3 separate regions of the Homo sapiens genome follow, and all the other regions are linked to region 2. Evidence: promoter capture Hi-C in 16 types of primary human blood cells and fetal thymus (Javierre and others, 2016). All regions are on one chromosome and are shown on one strand. Each heading gives the region's core, a stretch centred on a gene start or on the middle of the fragment in contact. The rest is flanking DNA. Distances are from core to core; before and after follow the strand shown.

The links. The method cuts DNA at HindIII sites, captures the fragments that hold promoters and counts their contacts. A CHiCAGO score of 5 or more calls a contact.
Region 1: a fragment that was not itself captured here is called in contact with the fragment with the promoter of ZNF160 in region 2 in 1 of 17 cell types (fetal thymus); the score reaches 5.1 in fetal thymus.
Region 3: a contact is called between a fragment that was not itself captured here and the fragment with the promoter of ZNF160 in region 2, in 4 of 17 cell types (fetal thymus, naive CD4 T cells, total CD8 T cells and 1 more). The highest score is 6.9, in fetal thymus.

Annotation. Positions count from the first base shown.
Region 1 is chr19:53,428,206-53,431,611 of GRCh38, reverse strand. The region is part of intron 9 of ZNF765-ZNF761 (ZNF765-ZNF761 readthrough); the gene reads right to left. Among named protein-coding and RNA genes, the nearest start is that of ZNF761, 2.1 kb to the left of the region's middle. The HindIII fragment of the contact is 828 bases long and covers 1,321-2,148 here.
Region 2 is chr19:53,101,179-53,104,792 of GRCh38, reverse strand. It overlaps ZNF160 (zinc finger protein 160), which reads left to right and starts at 1,371. Exons shown (of 6, transcript NM_001322131.2): 1 at 1,371-1,528. RefSeq lists a silencer at 919-1,328. The HindIII fragment of the contact is 3,069 bases long and covers 129-3,197 here.
Region 3 is chr19:53,518,690-53,522,391 of GRCh38, reverse strand. It overlaps a transcript of ZNF331 not described here. Among named protein-coding and RNA genes, the nearest start is that of ZNF331, 18 kb to the left of the region's middle. RefSeq lists enhancers at 346-1,119, 1,430-1,629, 1,120-1,893, 1,894-2,668. The HindIII fragment of the contact is 293 bases long and covers 1,115-1,407 here.

The sequences.
Region 1 (3,406 bases), core at 485-2,984, 330 kb before region 2:
GGGAGAGTCCACCCCGTGCTCAGCTGCAGAGACTTCCCTAGGGCCTCCCCCTGGGATGCGGGACGGAATGCTCAGGCCAGCCAGGGGCGACCTGCTGGATAAACACAGCAAGGATTCAGGCGCGGGGGCGGGAGCCTGAGTTCCCAGCTACTCAGGAAGCAGCGGCGAGAGGATCGCTGAGCCTGGGGGTCCAGGCCAGCCTGGGCGACAAAGTAACACCCCTCCCTCAGGACTCCCTCCCTCGTCTCTCTCTCTTTTTTTCTCCATTTTTTAACGTTAAAATAAAATTTTGATTGTGTGAGATAGGGATACATTATTCTTTTCCATGTGGATATCCAGTTAGTTGTCCCAGCACATTTGTAGAAGAGATCTATTACTTTCTTTTATTTATTTACTTATTTCTTTTCTTTTATTTTGAGACAGAGCATTTCTCTGTCGCCCAGGCTGGAGTGCAGTGGCAGGAACTGGGCTCACTGCAGCCTCTGCCTCCTGGGTTCAAGCGATTCCCCTGCCTCAGCCTCCGGAGTACCTGCCATTACAGGCGCGTGCCACCATGCCCGGCTAATTTTTGTATTTTTGTAGGTGGGTTCCCCATGTTGGCCAGCTGGTCTCAACCTCCTGACTTCAAGTGATCCACCTGCCTCGGCCTCCCAAAGTACTGGGATTACAGGCGTGAGCCACTGTGCCTGGCCCCCCCAAAATACTTTTTACTTCACTGTCTAATTGTTGAGAAAATATAATTGAAAACAAACAAAAAGTCTTTCTCCAAATGAGAAATCATCTCCACGATGATCATAGAGAAAGAAATTAAAACCATTTCATTAATAAATAAGCCTTAGACCAGATTGTGATGCGAAATACAGGCAAACAGCTAAGAGGTTGAAAAAAGAGAAAGAAACTTTACTGTTCTATACAACCCATTAAGGACATGTTTTCAAGATAAACGCTAATCAGTCCTCAGGGAAGAGGACTTGACAACACTCTTGGTCACACATAGTTCATCCTGACTCTACTTGGTAATGGAGGTGACCATCTGTGTCAGCTAATTAGCTTCATTCTGAGGGACGGGGAGTAACACTAACCCATGTCTTTCTGACAAGTGTGAGTTTTACAACATAGCGACAGGTGCCCTCTCTGGTGAGGCTCCTACAGTCTGACAGAAACTGATATCAGCAGTAAATAATAAAATTTAGAATATATGATTAAGCACAGAGTTTATTTGAACACAAAGCATGAGGATAGCCACCTGGAAACATCAACTCCAAATGAATGGGATCAGCGTTCCCTTAGGTTTCACACACACGGAAAGACAGAGAAGCTTTAGAAGAATCACCACATTTTCCATTCAAGACCAGTACATAGGGTGCAGCAAGGTGATTGGTTATGGATTGATATACTTCAAGGAAGGTTACTTTATCACTCAATATAAAGGGACAATGATCCCAGGAGGTCTTATCTCTGGGGCTGCTTAGTCTTTTTAATTATTTACAGGAAAATTCTCTCTCTCTTTTTTTTTTTTTTTGGACGTAGTCTTGCTCTCTCACCCAGGCTGGAGTGCAGAGGCATGATGTCAGCTCACTGCAACCTACACCTCTCAGATTCAAGCAGTTCTCCTGCCTCAGCCTCCCAAGTAGCTGGGATTACAGGCATCCACCACCACATCTGGCTAATGTTTGCATTTTTAGTTGAGACAGGGTTTCACCATGTTAGCCAGGCTGGTCTTGAACTCTTGACCTCCGGTGATCTGCTCACCTCAGCCTCCGAAAATGCTGGAATTACAGGCGTGAGCCACCGTGCCCAGCCTATAAGTGGCTTTTTTACAGCGAATGCTATGCAAAACTTCTCATCAGTCATCATCATATTCAATAGCATTGCTTTTATCATATCACGGAAACCATTATTCTCATTTGGAACAGTCTGCCATCAACCTTCACAAATGCATATGGAAGCCCTCATGCTGGACTTCTCCTCACCCTAGAATCACCTGGGGGCAGGGTAGTTAATTGAAACAGCATGGATGTTTCCCCCGACACCAATAGACAGACGCTATGGGGAGGGCACAGGTGATGGTAGTAACTGAATATGACCATTTGATCCAACTGGAAGCCTGGGCTGAGAGCCTCTTAGCTAAGCACTGACTCTCAAGCTTTAAGGTGAATATAAGTCATCTGGCACTCCACAACCCACTGTAATAATGTTTGATTCTGCAGGTTTGAGGTAGCATTTATAAATTGGCATCTTTAACAAGTTCCCTGTTAATGCCAATGTTTCTCCCCTCGGACCCATTGTCAGAAGCACTGAGCTACAGAAGGCATGCCCTGCACACCAGAGCCCCTTCCACCCAAATATCTGCTCTCAGCACAGATACTGTTGGTTCCCAGGGGAGACCATAAATCACAGTCTTGAAAAGTCACTTTCTCTTTTTTTTTTCTTTCTTTTTTTCAGATGGAGTCTCGCTCTGTCGTCCAAAGTGCTGGGATTACAGGCTTGAGCCACCGCGACTGGCCTGATAGGAGGTGTTTAAAAGGAGCTTCAAAAGAGGTCAGTGCTCTACACTGAACGAAGGATGGAGGGTAATGGTAATGCCTCCACATTAAAATGACACAAATGCTGCTGTCTTACTGAAGTTTGGTACTTTCTGTGGGATAGATACTTTTCACTTTGTTCTGTGGCTTTGGTAAATTTCAGAAGTCTGAAATGATTGATTTTAGTGACTTTGCGAGTGTTTTCATCATTTTGCAGAGGAGACTTGGTTTCTTGTGGTTTGCATTCATCAGTGTCAGAAGCTGATCTCTCTATTCAATCTTGCAGTTTTAAGTAATGCATTGAACAGTCACATAACAGAACGCTGAGCAGGAGAACTAAATTTCTAGTGTAATCAGAATGGCAGGCACTAAATGAATTATTTTACAATAAGCCTGTGTCCTTTTTATTAACTGTTCAGTGGAGAAGTTTGGAGTCTATAAACTTGTAATAAATGTGGCCTGTAAGAACTACAAATACTGGAAAGCTCTGAGGATGTAATTTCTAATTTGATGAAGAAAACATTCTCTTTAATTAACTTGGCAAGGAGAAGGCTTCAATAAAAAGAAAGGCAACTATGCCTGGGGCGGAGCTGGAGTGGAAATAAGATGGCAGACATTGGACGTCATTGAAGGCCTGGTGATGTGGTTTTAGTCCATGTGCCAAGAGCAAAAAGTTATTTAAAATATATTAGTTAGGGCCGGGTGCAGCGGCTCATGCCTATAATCCCAGCACCTTGGGAGACCAAGGGCGGGTGGATCATATGACGTCCGGAGTTCAAGACCAGCCTGACCCATGTGGTGAAACCGCATCTCTAATAAAAATACAAAAAAATTAGCTAGTGGTGGTGGCATGTGCCTGTAATCCCAGCAACCTGGGAGGC
Region 2 (3,614 bases), core at 122-2,621:
ACATAACATAACAAACTTTCCCTGAATAACTGTAGTCATGCCAAGTGCTCATCCACAGCCTCATAACTTGTGCTTGTGCTTTCTAGCCTTGTTTACTCCTCCATATATGAAAAAAAGAAAAAAAAGCTTTTTAGTTTGTGTCTCTTGGACATTTTCAGATCTTGTGATTGGAACATTCTCTCTATTGCAATAGTCCTTTTGAATAAAATCTTCCTTCTCTAAGTCTGAATTTGTCATTTACAGTGGTAAATATCTTAATTGTTCTGAGATAAATTATGTATATTATCTTTTTGTGGCAAAGGACTTAATATATATTCAGTAGGTGAAAGTAGTTCCTGGGGCCAGGTATGGTGGCTCACGCCTGTAATCCCAGCACTTTGGGAGGCTGAGGCGGGTGGATCACTTGAGGTCAGGAATTCGAGACCAGCCTAGGCAACATGGTGAAACTTCATCTCCGCTAAAGAACGTGGTGGCGGGCGCCTGTAATCCTAGCTACTCGGGAGGCTGAGGCAGGAGCATTGCTTGAACCCGGGAGGCCGAGGTTGCAGTGAGCAGAGATCATGCCACTGCACCCCAGCCTGGACGACAGAGCGTGACTCCGGCTCAAAAAAAAAAAAAAAAAGTATAGGCGTTTGAGGTTGTCATCTCGCACGGAATAGAATAGTAAGTATAAAAAAGGACAATGCAATTTATATCTATTTTTTAAAAGTTACTGCTAATTTCAGGGCTTTTAAATTACTTAATTTTAATCGCAGAAACTTTTCCAGCATGCCATCACCGCTCCGTGTCAACCCATGTTCCCAGACTCCTGGGCTGCTTCAGCGTCAATAACATTACTGGGTAAACGCGCTAGCAAAAAATGCTTTCAACATAAACCGCCTCCATTCTAAGAGGAAAGCAGTTTGGTTTCCAAAATAACCTACACAACTGTGCTTTTAACTTGAAACCGTTTGAAACATCTACGCCGTTCCACAAGACACTACAGATGGCTCTGGGCGCTGGGCTGTGGGCATCACACGAAATCGCAGACCCTAACGTGTCCCGTCCAGCCCCGCCTCTCCCCCGGGTCCCTTCCTGGCGGTCCCTCTGCCTCCCTCCCCCGCGGTCCCTTCGCCTTCCTCCCCCGCGGTCCCTTCCCGCGGTTCCTCCCCGCCCTTCCCCGGCGGCTCCTCCCCGGCCCGCCCCCGGGTCCCTCCACTTGGTCACTCCCCACCCCTCCCCGGTGGCTCCTCCCCGTTCCTTCCCTGGGGTCCCTGCCTGGCGGCCCCTGCTTCAGCCCGGCTCTCTCAACGCCCCGCCCTTTTCCGGTTCCGCCCATCTCGGACCCCGCCCCGGGCCGCTCGGTCGCTTTCCTTCGCGCAGTTGCCCACAGACCCGGAAGTGGATCGTGCGGAGCAAGCATCACACCATGGCGTATGAGTGTTCCTCTGTGTAGACTCAACCTGCGCCTCGCCGTCCCCCATTCGCACACCCGATGCCCGGGGGTCGCTACGGACTTAAAATCTCCGCACCGCACCCTCCACCTCAGGTAAATAGGCCTTGCTGTGTGGGCCCGGAGACGCTTCCTTTTGGGTTAAAGTCGCCCTGAGGCTGGTCCCTGCCCCCGGTCTTTCTGCCTTGGGCCAAGTAAACACGGCCTTTCCCGGTTTTTTAAACGTTTAAGCAGGATTTTCCTGCTTAAAATCCTTTACTGACTCCTCCTCCCGCCCCGCATCGCTTAAAGTCCTCACCGCCTGCCCTGGGCGCCTCCCAGCCTCGCTCTCGTCGGCCCCTGGAGCGCAGCGCCGCCGACCCAGTCCCGGGGAGGCCGCGCCTCCGCCTGGTCCTGGGATCCTGCACATCCCACCCCTGTCCTAAGGCGCCGTCGCCCCCCACCTCCCTCCTCCTCGTGCCGGGCCCTGCTGCTCCCCAGGCCTCCCCTTCGCAGTCACCGCTTCCCTTGAGCCCTCGTTGGGGAGGTGCCCGGGGCCCGTCCTGTGACACCCGGTGTTTTTGCCTGCCCAGCTCCACCCCCTGGAAAATGTACTCCTCCAACATGCAGACATCTTACTACAAACCCTCCAGTGAATGTGTGGCCCAAGGGAATCAGGAGAAAGAGAGACAAAGAGCCACTGAGAGGAGATGGAAAAACCAAGAAAGAGAAAAGAAAAATGAGGGAGACCCATAAACAGATGGCAAAGTGGAGGATGGGTGAGAGATTTGCAGCGACAGAGTGAAAGAAGCAGTCAAGAAAGTAGCAGGGGCAGAAAAGCAATTGGCGAAATGTAGAGAAAAGCTCGATGTCCCGAGATGCAGGACAACAAGATAAGGAGAGGGACAGCAAAGAAGGAGCCTCCTCAGACAGAGAGTGGGGGAGAGGAGAAAGGATTTGGCCGAGGGCAGACAGAGCTGCGTGGTGCTGGGACAGCTGGAGGGGACAGCTGGTGACAAGGCGAGCAGAGGGAGCACCACAACACAGGGAGGCCTGGGATCTGGGAGTGCCAGAGAGTGGGGATAAGCGGGTGTAACAGGGAAGAGGGGATTTAACAGGGAGAGCAGAGGAGGCGCGGAGATGGGGTAAGAAAGAGGCAGAAATAGATGGAGATTGGGACGATGAAAAGATTGGAAAGAAAACGCCACAAGAGGTGAAACAAATTGGAAGAATGGAGTAGAACAGATATAAGGGGAAAAAACAAAGAAGGGAGAAACAGCAGAAGAAAAAAGAGGCACAACATCGTCAGAATCCTAGGGGGAAGATAAAAGGGGAAAAAGGCTGGAGAGACAAGGTGAAAGTGAGAGGCACAAAATGGGGGAGAGGAACACATAGTTATAAAGAAAGAGGGGCGCCCTGGGGCCAGGTGAGAGGTGAGTTGAGATTGGATATGACAATTTGATTTCTCTATTTATAATGTGTTACATTTAAATTGTAATCTAATTGTTTAAATTCTACATATAAGGATGAGAATTACAAAGCTCTGTGTAAAAGGCTTGTGCATTTTACAATTATGGCATAAGAGGCTAGCTTTCATTTGCCCATGCTGTTTAGCCATTGGGCAGTGACTTGCCTCATTCAGTTATGGGTCTCCCTCTTCCTGTTTCCGAGGATGGGGTAGGGTGGGGGCAGTGAAGAGAGGCAAGGAGTGACTGGCTGTGTCACTGCCTGGTGCCTTGTATTTACCTTTCATCTCACAGTTCATGCTGAAGGTTGAGATGAAGCTTATCTAATTCAGTCTCTTTTTCTATATGTAATTATTGCTGAAGTAAGCTTTTGTGGAATCCTGTATTGGCTCATGTCATTCTTTTCTAAATGTGATATATTTTCAATTTTTTCCCTTTGTAGAATTCCATATATAGTTAATATATCATATACATATTAAATAATATATATATTTTCAAAATGGTTTCCATTTGAAGTTAATTGTGTTGAGTTCAGATTGAGGTCTGCATGCTTTCTACTCTTTATCATATATTGGAAATACTCTTTGGTAGTCAGTAGGTAACTTTATTCATTTTTATTTATTTATTTATTTATTTTTGAGACAGTCTCGCTCTTTCACCCAGGCTGGAGGGCAGTGGCGTGATCTCAGCTCACTGCAACCTCTGTCTCCTGGGTTCAAGTGATTCTCCTGCCTCAG
Region 3 (3,702 bases), core at 12-2,511, 420 kb before region 2:
GGTGGCGTGCGCCTGTGGTCCCAGCTACTTGGGAGGCTGAGGCAGGAGAATCGCTTGAACCTGGGAACCGAGATCGCACCACTGCACTCCAGCCCTGGGCGACAGAGCAAGACTCTGTCTCAAAAAAAAAAAAAACAAAGAAAGAAAATAGGGCACACTTGTCCCCAGACCACAGTTAAAATCAATCAGAAATAAGAGGGCACAGGCATGTGAGTTTTTCAGAGAAATGCTGGAAAACTCTAGGAACTGGGGTTCTGAAACATGGAGCTGCCCCTCTCACCACCTCCCCGCCTCCCATGTCAGGTACCTCTTTCTTCCCCAAAAGGAATTCTATTCTTGAGGTTACTTCCTCTTGTCGTCCAGGTAGTGTGCACGGAGAGCACTTCTGGCTCCAAAACTGCCATCTCGTGACTTGTGAAGCCTTCTTCTTGGTCATTTTCACAATAGCGTAGAGCCTCTCACGTCACTTTGGGACCACTGCTCCCTAGCAGGTACCACATGGCTGGAAGGCCAAGGCACAGGAAGCAACGGAGACACTAGAAAGACAGGTGACATGGTCGCACACACCTGTGCTCACTCAAAAGGCCATGCACCCAGGCCCGATCCCGACCAGTCACAGCCGCACACTCGCTGGCCCTTTCACACCCACAGACGCTCACACCAGAGGGACACTGCCTGTCCCTGTCAACCTGACAGAAGTGCAAAGGCACATTTCAGAGACACGGAGACCCGTCCTGGCCGTGCCACCTCTGCAGACCCCACCAGCATTGACCTCGCACAGAACGGAGGTGCAGAGACACAGCCCGGCTGCGTCACCCCTACAGATGCCCTTACAGCCCGGCGCTATGGCCCTCATAGACGTCTACACACACCTGTGTCACAGTTTATGGGGACAGAGCCCGGCCGCGTCAACCCCGCATGCATCACGGCTTAGGGGAACGGGGCTTGTTCGCATTACCCCACAGACGAAGACAATTATCTCAGTCACTGGGCCACGGCGGGGCCCCACCAGGCAGCCTCTGGCTTATTCACACACACACACACACACACACACACACACTCACACACACTCCCACTTCCCTGCTCGCCGCTCCCGAAGCCTCAGGCCGAAGCTTCTTCATTTTAGGGCCTCCGCGTCCCGAGTGGCTCCCTCACCGCCATTCCCCGCGGAACCCTGCCCTGGCTTCCTCCTGGGAGGCAAATAGCTCCCGGCTCGAGGCCTAACCACACCCAGCACATCAGGAGGTGAAACAAGGTCTCAGGCGCAGTTGGGATAAGATCCAGGAGAAACCATTTTTAAAAATCCCGCGAGCATGAAGCACGCCCCTCAGCCGGCCACCCGGCTCGCTCCTCATTGGACTGTGCCCCAAGGCCCTCTGGGAAATGTAATGCGAAACCAGAGAAGCTTCGACGCAGCTGGAAGGGCGCCCGTCAGTGTTTCCCAGCATGCAACTCTACACGGCGCAAATGGAGCCGTGACCCAGAGGCCTCTGGGAAATGTAGTCCATAACCCGGAAATCCACAGAGTTGGAAGCGGCTGTCAGGATTTCCCAGCATGCAACTCTACGCGACCCTAAGGGCGTCCTGCCTTGAGGGCTTCTGGGAAATGTAGCTCATAACCCGGGAATCGACGTATCTGGAAGGGCGCCCATCAGTGTTTCCCTGCAGGCAACTGCACACGGCCCTAATGGAGCCATGCCCCAGAGACCTCTGGGAAATGCTCACTACGCGGGAATCCTTAGCGCTGGAAGCGCGGCCGTCAGAATGCTTTTCGTCGGTGTCTCCTCCCACTGTTAGAGCAGCTGCACCCCCCATAGACTTCTGGGAAAGCGTATTTCAGACTGGCAGAATCTTCAAATGCTGGAAGCCCTGTCGGCCTTCTCCTGCCCTGAAACTTTGCTTGCTCCTAAGGCGCACCACAAAAAATTCCTGGGAAAAGTGGTTCAGGCTCTAGGGGCCTACAGTTATAATTGCTTACAACTTGCATTTGGGATCCGTCCATAGGGAAGGCGTGTCCCCGCGTCCTTCTGGGAAGGAAATGTAGTCTGAAACGACCAGAAATCACGCCTGTAATCTCAGCACTTTGGGAGGCCGAGGCGGGTATATCACCTGAGATCAGGAGTTCGAGACCCTCCTGCCCAACATGGTGAAACCCCATCGCTCTAAAAATGCAAAAATTAGCCAGGCGTGGTGGTGTGTGCCTGTAATCCCAGCTACTTGGGAGGCTGAGGGAAGAGAATCGCTTGAACCCAGGAGGCAGAGGTTGCAGTGAGCCGAGATCACACCACTGCACTCCAGCCTGGGCGATAAGAGTGAAACAATGTCTCAAAATAATAATAATAATAATAATAAGCCCGGAAAGCTTAAAAGCTGTGATTTGGGAAAAGTTCAAAAATTTCCCAGCATGCAACATGGCCCTCCTTAGAAAAGAGCTGTGCCTCCAGAGCGTTCTTGGAAATACAGCCCCGAGCTGGAAATGCCTCTAGAAAGTGTTAGGTAGGGTGTTTACATGTGAGATTTTGGGGACGTTTCAGCACTGCCCTTTCCCCCACCCCCCAGTAGATTGGGGAGCTCCAGGCATGTGTGTAGGGACCTTGAGTAGGTTCCACGGGAGTGACCTGGTCCTGACTGGGTCTGTGCCAAGGCTCTCTCTGTAAGGGCAGGACTTTGCGTTTCGTTCTCTGATGCTGTCCCAGACTTGGGAGCACTGCCTGGCTCTTCAGATGTCTCTGTGAGTGTTACCTTGGTATGGGCGGGAGAGGCCTGGGCTGTATGGCTTGCTGCCCGGCAGGATATTGACAAGATGTTCTTATGATCAGGCGGTTTGGCCCTTTTTCCGGTGGGATCTCATCAGGATGTTCCTTGGACCTTTGCCAAGAAAGATATGATAGGGATGGTTTTTGTAGTTGGGCCTTTGCCCAGTAGGACATGATGAGAATGTTTCTTTAATTGGGTCTTTGTTCGCCTTGTGGTCAGGTGGTTAGGCAGGATATTTCTCACTGCCTGAACCCCTGTGAAATGTTTCACTTTGACCAAGGTCTGCAAAAGAGCAGGGGGCTTCCGAAATGGTGCAATTTAGACAAACACTGGGGTGTGAGATGCTTTGCCCTAAAAAATATATGCTGTTGTTGGGAGAGAATCATTGGTGGGTGTGACTGGATTTGTGATTGTGTGGACTCATCAGGGAGCCTCCTGGAGCTCAGGTAAGGGAGGGCGCCTGTGAGGTTTTTGGCCTTCATTATGACATGGATGAGATTGTATGTTTCTATGAACGTGTGGGTAAGACTACTGTATAGAGTACCCTTGACATAAGTAACTCCATCTTAGAAAAAGACTCCATCTTGCATTCCACAGGGCACTTTGCCAACAGGGACAAGATGTTTTGCTTAATAAATAAATAATAAAGACTGCATCCAACCAGATAAGGATATAAACAAGCACATTCTTCCACCATCTGTCCTCCCCAGAGGACTCTGTGGCCATAAAAGGAGCAAGGCTTCAGTGGCTTGAAATAACCATCTTAACTGCAACCGTCCTGCTGTCATTTGTGATGAGCACTTGGCATCTGCTGCTGAAGCCTCAAAGACTTCTTGCAAGACCAATGGGCCTGCCCAGCCCTGACCAAGGGTTTTGTTACTCTCCTTGGACTGACTTGTTAACCCTTTTCTCCTATCTCTTTTCTCTTGATGTTAAACATTACTT